Regions from separate parts of the Homo sapiens genome. Here all the other regions are linked to region 1. Evidence: promoter capture Hi-C in human tissues and cell types (Jung and others, 2019). All regions are on one chromosome and are shown on one strand. Each heading gives the region's core, a stretch centred on a gene start or on the middle of the fragment in contact. The rest is flanking DNA. Distances are from core to core; before and after follow the strand shown.

What was found. Contacts are between HindIII fragments. The study calls those that stand out against the background at their distance.
Region 2: a fragment that was not itself captured here is called in contact with the fragment with the promoter of INA in region 1 in 3 of the 25 tissues and cell types used here (IMR-90 fibroblasts, lymphoblastoid cells and spleen).
Region 3: a fragment that was not itself captured here is called in contact with the fragment with the promoter of INA in region 1 in 2 of the 25 tissues and cell types used here (bladder and spleen).

Annotation. Positions count from the first base shown.
Region 1 is chr10:103,275,810-103,278,603 of GRCh38, forward strand. INA (internexin neuronal intermediate filament protein alpha) reads left to right here and starts at 1,329. Exons shown (of 3, transcript NM_032727.4): 1 at 1,329-2,467. The coding sequence starts at 1,403. RefSeq lists an enhancer at 1,744-2,348. The HindIII fragment of the contact is 4,832 bases long and covers 1-2,794 here.
Region 2 is chr10:102,765,385-102,768,178 of GRCh38, forward strand. The region is part of intron 1 of WBP1L (WW domain binding protein 1 like); the gene reads left to right. Among named protein-coding and RNA genes, the nearest start is that of WBP1L, 23 kb to the left of the region's middle. The HindIII fragment of the contact is 6,005 bases long and covers 1-2,794 here.
Region 3 is chr10:102,793,188-102,795,981 of GRCh38, forward strand. All of the region lies in intron 1 of WBP1L (WW domain binding protein 1 like), which reads left to right. Among named protein-coding and RNA genes, the nearest start is that of CYP17A1-AS1, 38 kb to the right of the region's middle. The HindIII fragment of the contact is 6,115 bases long and covers 1-2,794 here.

The DNA.
Region 1 (2,794 bases), core at 79-2,578:
TGATATTAGAAGCTTGCAAGTGGGTACATATTACAGACGCCACACTGACCCCTCCCAGCCTTCATCTTTTCAGATTCCATTCTTTGATTCTCACCCCCTGCCCCACCAACCCTACCATGTGGCAGAAGAGGCCGGCTCAGTCACCAGCACTCTCCCCCACTCCTGGAGTTTAATCTTTTTGCAGGGATCTCTTTTCTCCAAAAAGAGATCTGCACAGGGAGTGGCTCTCTGAAGCCAGTTGAGAACCTGCCCTGCTGGATTTACACAAACTGAAATCTCAAATGCCCACAGGGTCAGAGAGGTAAAGTAAATGAATTAAGAAGGGGGGCGTAATTCAGTGGAGAATGGCAGGGACTGTAGTGAACAGGAGAGCACACTTCTTATACAAATGGCAAGGGCAACTCACCTCTGCCACTGTGGGCATCCCAGCTCTTCCCATTTTCAGAAGAAGCCAGAAATCCAATTTCTTTACAGGTGAAATCTCCTGGTTTAAAAATGCTCCTTTCGAAATATTTTAAAATATAATGCTCTAAACACAAAAGTCTGCAGCCCCCTTTCCAGCAGCTTGTGGTCCTGGCCTGTGCCATGCTTTAGTGCCCTAACGATGAGCCCCAGCAATTCCCAGCGCCTCCTGCTTCTCCAAGTCTGGCCTCTTTTCCCCTCTGTACCGCCGCTTCTCCCCACTCTCCGCAGCTCGGGGTCACTTTCTTTACTGATCTCCCCTCTCTTCTGGGAGAGGCACTTGCTGAACATCTTTCCGCCCGGAGCCTCCCCAGGAGCTGCAGAGGGGCAGCTGGAGAGATGCTTTCTGACGTAGCATCTCCCACCTTTCTCCTTGGGGACCCTGAGGAAGGGGACAAGGGCTCGCTCTGCAGGTCCTCACTGTAACTGGAAAAACACGACCTCGCCCTCGGGAAGGCTTTCTGTGCGCCTCACCTCAGGATGAGGGTGGGTGTAGGGGACACCTCCCAGAAACCCCTAACCTCCCAGTCGGTTAAAGAAGAGGGGATAGGGTCAAGGGATGCGACAGAGCTGTGTGGTTTCCGGATGGGAAACCTCAGTCGTTTAGGCACCCCTCCGCTCGAGTCACTTCCGAAGCAGTCGATTCTTGGGGAGAAGCGCTGCGGAAAGGGGCGACTCCGATGCAGATGGCCCTGTCCCGGCGCCCCAGGTCGTCGCGCGCGCAGCTGCGGTAGTCACTGCGCCTCCCCGCCCCCACTCCTGGATGCCCCCCTTCCCTCTCCCGGCCAGACTCTGAGCAGGAGCTCCGCCCCCAGCGCGCCGCCCCAGCCCCGGCGCCTTAAAAGCCGGGCGCACCGCCCCGCCGCGCCCTGCCTGCCGCACCTCTCCTTTCTTCTGTAGCTCGCGTTGAAGCCGCACGTCCGGCCCCGATCCCGGCACCATGAGCTTCGGCTCGGAGCACTACCTGTGCTCCTCCTCCTCCTACCGCAAGGTGTTCGGGGATGGCTCTCGCCTGTCCGCCCGCCTCTCTGGGGCCGGCGGCGCGGGCGGCTTCCGCTCGCAGTCGCTGTCCCGCAGCAATGTGGCCTCCTCGGCCGCCTGCTCCTCGGCCTCGTCGCTCGGCCTCGGCCTGGCCTATCGCCGGCCGCCGGCGTCCGACGGGCTGGACCTGAGCCAGGCGGCGGCGCGCACCAACGAGTACAAGATCATCCGCACCAACGAGAAGGAGCAGCTGCAGGGCCTCAACGACCGCTTCGCCGTGTTCATCGAGAAGGTGCATCAGCTGGAGACGCAGAACCGCGCGTTGGAGGCCGAGCTGGCCGCGCTGCGACAGCGCCACGCTGAGCCGTCGCGCGTCGGCGAGCTCTTCCAGCGCGAGCTGCGCGACCTGCGCGCGCAGCTGGAGGAGGCCAGCTCGGCTCGCTCGCAGGCCCTGCTGGAGCGCGACGGGCTGGCGGAGGAGGTGCAGCGGCTGCGGGCGCGCTGCGAGGAGGAGAGCCGCGGACGCGAAGGCGCCGAGCGCGCCCTGAAGGCGCAGCAGCGCGACGTGGACGGCGCCACGCTGGCCCGCCTGGACCTGGAGAAGAAGGTGGAGTCGCTGCTGGACGAGCTGGCCTTCGTACGCCAGGTGCACGACGAGGAGGTAGCCGAGCTGCTGGCCACGCTGCAGGCGTCGTCGCAGGCCGCGGCCGAGGTGGACGTGACTGTGGCTAAACCAGACCTGACCTCGGCTCTGAGGGAGATCCGCGCCCAGTATGAGTCCCTGGCCGCTAAGAACCTGCAGTCCGCGGAAGAATGGTACAAGTCCAAGTTTGCCAACCTGAACGAGCAGGCGGCGCGCAGCACCGAGGCCATCCGGGCCAGCCGCGAGGAGATCCACGAGTATCGGCGCCAGCTGCAGGCGCGCACCATCGAGATCGAGGGCCTGCGCGGGGCCAACGAGTCCTTGGAGAGGCAGATCCTGGAGCTGGAGGAGCGGCACAGTGCCGAGGTAGCTGGCTACCAGGTAAGGGCCGGGGCTGGGCGTGGGGAGGGGTGCCCTGCCCTCTTCCGCGCGTACCCTCTTCCTCTGGTAAAACTGGGCCCCAGGACTTAAGGGGAGGGCAAAAGAGAGGAGAGAAGAGCCGCGGCTGGAGGCGCTGGTTAACAAAAAACCCTGGAGTCTTTAATGTTAATTTTAGGGAACGCCCCTCATTTATGTCCCTGCCCCAGCCCTTCAAACAAAGAAGCCCTTAAATTTATTTGAGGTTCGAAAACCCAACTCTGCCTGTCTGTCAGCAAGCGGGCCTACACACACCGGCGACCCGGAGAACAGTGCCCCACCCAAAGTAAG
Region 2 (2,794 bases), core at 181-2,680, 510 kb before region 1:
ATCACGCCCGACTAATTTTTGTATTTTTTTTGTGGAGATGGAGTTTTGCCATGTTGCCAGACTGGTCTCGAACTCCTGGGCTCAAGTGATCCACCCTCCTTGGCCTCCCAAAGTGCTGGCATTACAGGCATGTGCCACCACACCCAGCCAGGATCCTCTCTTTAGTCACGTCTTTATCTCTTCATTCATGTGACGATCTTTTCTTGAGGGCCTGCTTTGTGCAAGGCATCGTGCTTGGTCCTGTGAGGGATATGGAAGTGAACGTTTCACATCTTACCCCTAAGTTGCTTACTTTAGAGGAGAAGGTAGGGCTGAGAAGAAATATCTAAAACATAAAGTGTGAAATGGCTTTGTTGAGTTTATGAGTTGCATGTAAGAAGTGAGTGGATTTTCCTATAAAAGCACAACCAAGATGATTGCTTTCTGGACAGTGAGAATGCTTAGAGCACCCAGAACTGCTTCTAAGGACTCAGAGAGAGTTGAGATGTCTGTCATAAAATGACCTTGCTGTTAGCCTTTTTCTTGGGTCAGCCACCATTGTACCCACATTCCCACTTAATATAGACCATGTCTCTCTTTATCTCACCCAAAGTTTAAATAACAGTGAAAGATGAAATCAGATTGGTGGAGACCTGGAAGCTTAATTTTCCTAATGGTTCTCTTTCCAAATTACATCTGGCCGAGGCAGGAGGATCACTTGAACCTAGGAGTTCGAGACCAGCCTTGGCAACATAGGAAGACCCTGCCTCTATAAAGATTAAAAAAAATTAGCCAGGGCCAGGTGCAGTGGCTCACATCTGTAATCCCAGCACTTTGGGAGGCCGAGGCAGGCGGATCACCTCAGGTCGGGAGTTTGAGACCAGCCTGACCAACATGGAAAAACCCCATCTCTACTAAAAATACAAAAATTAGCTGGGCATGGTGCGCATGCCTGTAATCTCAGCTACTCAGGAAGCTGAGGTAGGAGAATTTCTTGAACCCGGGAGGCGGAGGTTGCAGTTAGCTGAGATCGCACCATTGCACTCCAGCCTGGGCAACAAGAGCGAAACTCTGTCTCAAAAAAAAAAAAAAAAAAAAAGGAAAAAAAATAAGTTGGGCATTGTAGTAAACGCCTGTAGTCTCAGCTACTTGGGAGGCTGAGGTGGGAGGATTGCTTGTGCCTGCGAGGTTGGAGGCTACAGTGAGCCATGATCGCACCACTGCAGTCCAGCTTGGGTGACAGAGCAAGATCCTGTCTCAAAAACAAAAAGCCGGCCTGGCCAACATGGTGAAACCATGTCTCTATTGAAAATACAAAAATTAGCTGGGCATGGTGGCACGAGCCTGTAGTCCTAGCTACTTGGGAGGCTGAGCAGGAGAATTGCTTGAACTCAGGAGGCGGAGGTTGCAGTGAGCCGAGATTGCGCCTCTGCACTCCAGCCTGAGCGACAGAGCGAGACTCTGTCTCAAAAAAAAAAAAAGCAAAAAACAAATTTCATCTGAGTGTGTTTCATGTAGTTGGTGTGATCTACATCCCTCCTTTTGTTCTTATTCCGATCTTTGGTTTGGAGAGCAATTGTGAGGAGGCATGAAATGTATCTGGAGATAGCTATGAGCTGCAGCCTGCTGATTTTCATGTAATTCTTGGCTACTTGCCAGTATGGTTGGGGTTAAACTGTTTCCAGGGTAGGAAAAACACGAACCTAGCATTTTGATATGAAAACAAACAAGGCTACTTTGTACTTGATGAAGCTCAAGTTGCAGATCCAGTGAGAGCCCATTAACTATTGGTGAAGGCCCACTGACAGTGTTGAGTTTCAGAGACCCCTGCACATTCTGGAGATGGCAGCGAATTGTTGTGCAGCCTACGAAAGTAATAAATATTTCTGCAGTGATTGTCAACAACAAAATGATTTTCTTGTTTGGGGGGTGGGGAGGCAAGAGGCAGAAACCTTAGGAAGCTGTTGCAAACCAGTTTCAGCTTCTGCTACTTTTATTTCTTTCCATTTAAAGCTGGGTGCAGTGGCACATGCCTGTAGTCCCAGTTACTCAGGAGCCTGAGGTGGGAGGCTCACTTGAACCCAGGATTTTGAGGCTGCAGTGTATTATGATGGCCCCTGTAAGTAGCCACTGCACCCCAGCCAGGGCAACATAATGAGACCCTGTCTCTCAAAAAAAATAAAAGACTGAGGCTGCACCAATGACATGGGGTGGAGTCAGGAACCTAGGACTCTTTCTGGCCCACTTTGGAGACCGAGAGCAGGATTCTGTGAGGTTGAGGTCAATGACTGGGAAAGCCCCAAAGTTCTCATCTGTATCTTCCTTCCACCTCCCCCAACCTCTGCAATAAAACAAAATCAACTCCAAGATTGACCATATTTTAGTAGTAAATATCAAACAAGCAAAATGAGGGCCTAAAATACTCCACTAAAATAGAAATTCCTATATTTGATATTCATGCTGCTACTGTAATCATCAGAAAGAAAAACTGTGCTGGTCAAAGATACTCACTCATTAGATGTGTACATGTGTAGGGCCTTGACATTCTACCCCCAACTAATCTTTGCGTCATCTTTTTCTGCCTTTGGACGTATGCCCCATGCGTCCTTGTTTCCATACTTTTATTCATGCTCTGCTCTGCGTAGTGTGCTCATTTTATCCACTGAAACCCTACGTATTATTTCAGTATCCATCTCTTTGGGGTTTTTTAGTTTGTTTGCTTTTTGAGACGAATTCTTGCTCTGTTGCCCAGGCTGACATGCATTGGCATGATCTCGGCTCACTGCAACCTCCGCCTCCTGGGTTCAAGCGATTC
Region 3 (2,794 bases), core at 150-2,649, 480 kb before region 1:
CCCAGCACTTTGGGAGGCCAAGATGGGACGATTGCTTAAGGCCAGGAGTTTGAGATCTGCCTGAGCAACATAGTGAGACCCTGCCTCTACCAAAAAAGTAAAAATAAAAAAGCCAGATATGGTGGCACATGCCTGTAGTCCTAGCTACTCGGGAGGCTGAGGCAGAAGGATCACGTGAGCCCAGGAGTTTGAGGCTGTAGTGAGCTACAGTCGTGCCACTGTACTCCAGCCTGGACAACAGAGCAAGACCTTGTCTCCAATAAATACGTAAATAGTAAAAGCATAGGATAATCATAAAGGGTGCTGATAATTTTTCATATTTGACCTTTCCATTGCATTCTTTCCAGTTCCTTTTTCTTTTCTTCTTCATGTGTCTGGAGCAGCCCACATTGCCACAGAGAACTTGGCTGTTCTGAAACAATTCTGAGTGAAGGCAAAGTGCTTTTTGGATGGTCTTTCATGCTCAGCAATAGTGGCTCACAGAATAATGTTGATAGTAGGAGCCCAGAGAATTTAATTAGCCCAAGGTCACACAGTTAATAGCCCTACTGTAAAAGCTGGGCTTTGAACCCAGATCCAGCTCACTCTTTTTTTTTTTTGAGACAGGGTCTGGCTCTGTCACCCAGGCTAGCGTGCAGTGGTGCAATCATGGCTTGCTGCAGCCTCAACCTTCTGGGCTCAAGCAGTCCTCCCACCTCAGCCTCCCAAGTAGCTGGGACTACAGGTGTGCAACATCACACCCAGCTAATTGTATTATTATTTTTTTGGTTGAGATGGGGTTTTGCCATGTCCAGGCTGGTCTCAAACTCCTGGGCTCCAGTAATCTGCCCACCTTGGCCTCCCAAAGTGCTGAAATTATAGGCGTGACCCACCACACCTGGCCCCAGCGAACTCTTAACTACTTAGGCTTTGTGTAGATCTTAAGCCACCGGGAGGTGTTTGAGTCCTAGGTGTGCAACAATTAGGCTCCTCATATAAGGAGGGGTGGAAGATCACCAGGCAGCATTTCCACACCACTGTTCTTTGCTGTGGATTTGCATGAGAGGAGACATAGATTTCATGATATCTTGCATTGGCTTGAGGCTGCTATGTCAGGGTGGAAAGGGGATGGGGAGGATAATAAAACCTTAAAGTTGAAGGAGACGGCTGGGCGTGGTGGCTCACGCCTGTAATCCCAGCTACTCGGGAGGCTGAGGCAGGAGAATCATTTGAACCCGGGAGGTGGAGGTTGCAGTGAGTCAAAATCACGCCACTGCATACCAGCTTGGGCAACAGAGTGAGACTCCATCCTCCCCACCCCCACAAAAGAAAATTTAAGGAGACATTACAGGTGATCTTAACCAGACCTAGGGCCATTGAGTAACTTGCCTAAAGTTCATTTCTGTGTAGTGATAGAGCTGGGATCTACAAAAATTAGCCGGGTGTGGTGGCGTGCACCTGTAGTCCCAGCTACTCAGGAGGCTGAGGCAGGAGGATCAGTTGAGCCTGGAGGTCGAGGCTGCAGTTAGCTGTGATCAGGCCACTCTACTCCAGCCTGGGCAACAGTTAGACTCTGAGTGAAAAAGAAAAAAGTAGGGGGGTGCGAGGAGAGCTGGGGCCAAACCCAAGGCTCCTGGGTTTTCCATACCACTATTGACTGACACCAGCATGTCTCTCTGAAGGAACTCACTTTGGCACTCATATCTCACTATCTCCTGAATCCTCCTTCACCTCTTCCTTGCTAGAGGTACACCTTCTTTCGTACCGCTGCAGCAGAAAATGACAGTTCCCATAACCAAGACTATCCCAGGCAGCTCAGGGACTCTGTATTTAGAGGAGGGAGAAGGACCACAGGGGACTAGATATATAGATGGCCACAACTTGTGATGGTTCAACTTAGTGATTTTTCAACTTTATGGTGGTGCAATTGATACATGCAGCCAGTAGAAATCATTTGTTTTTCATTTTTAATACAGTATTAAGTAGATGACATGAGATATTCAATACTTTATTGTAAAATAATTTGTGTTAGAGGATTTTACCAAACCATAGGCTGATGTAAGTTCCGAGCAGTTTAAGGTAAGCTAGGCTAAGCTATGCTGTTCAGTAGATTAACTGTGTTAAATGCATTTTTGACTGACGATATTTTCAATTTATGATGGGTTTACCAGAACATGACCCCATCGTAAGCCGAGAAACTTCCGTACTGTGTTAAAAACTGTTTGAGGAACACTGGATTAAATGATGCTTCCACTGTTCTGCTCTCCCTGGGAAAGCGGAGGCAGAACGGTGAAGCAGAGTGAGGTCTTGTTTATTCCAGGCCCCCTGCCTCGGTGCACAGAAGATCCGAGAGAAAAGCTGACTGACAGCAGTAGGTCATGAGGATGCCACTTGTTTAGATTTCAAATGCATTCCACTCTATGTCTCACTTAAGACCAGTTGACAGCCATGTGTTCCGAGCCTGGGCTGCCTCTGGTGAATTTTCCTGAGACAGAAGTGTCATTGGATTCTTTCTTGTGCCAAGTGTAGGCACCACTGCCTCTTTTAGAAACTATGTGGACACTTTGAACTGTGCTCTTTTAAGCCAGTGCCGGAAGAATGGCATTCGCAGGGCCTGGTAAACTGGGGAGAAACTTTCTGATGTTTTTATGAAAGGCATGTTTTGCTCTGAAGTCAAAGAGTGTGTGTTCTGGCCAAAGTAGCAAGCATAGATCTGCTTTTTCCACACGCACCAGGCTTCAGAGGAGAAGTTGACTAGATAGCCAGTGTCTCATTTTGTTTGTGGTGGGCATGGGATGGTGAAAACGGAAGGAGG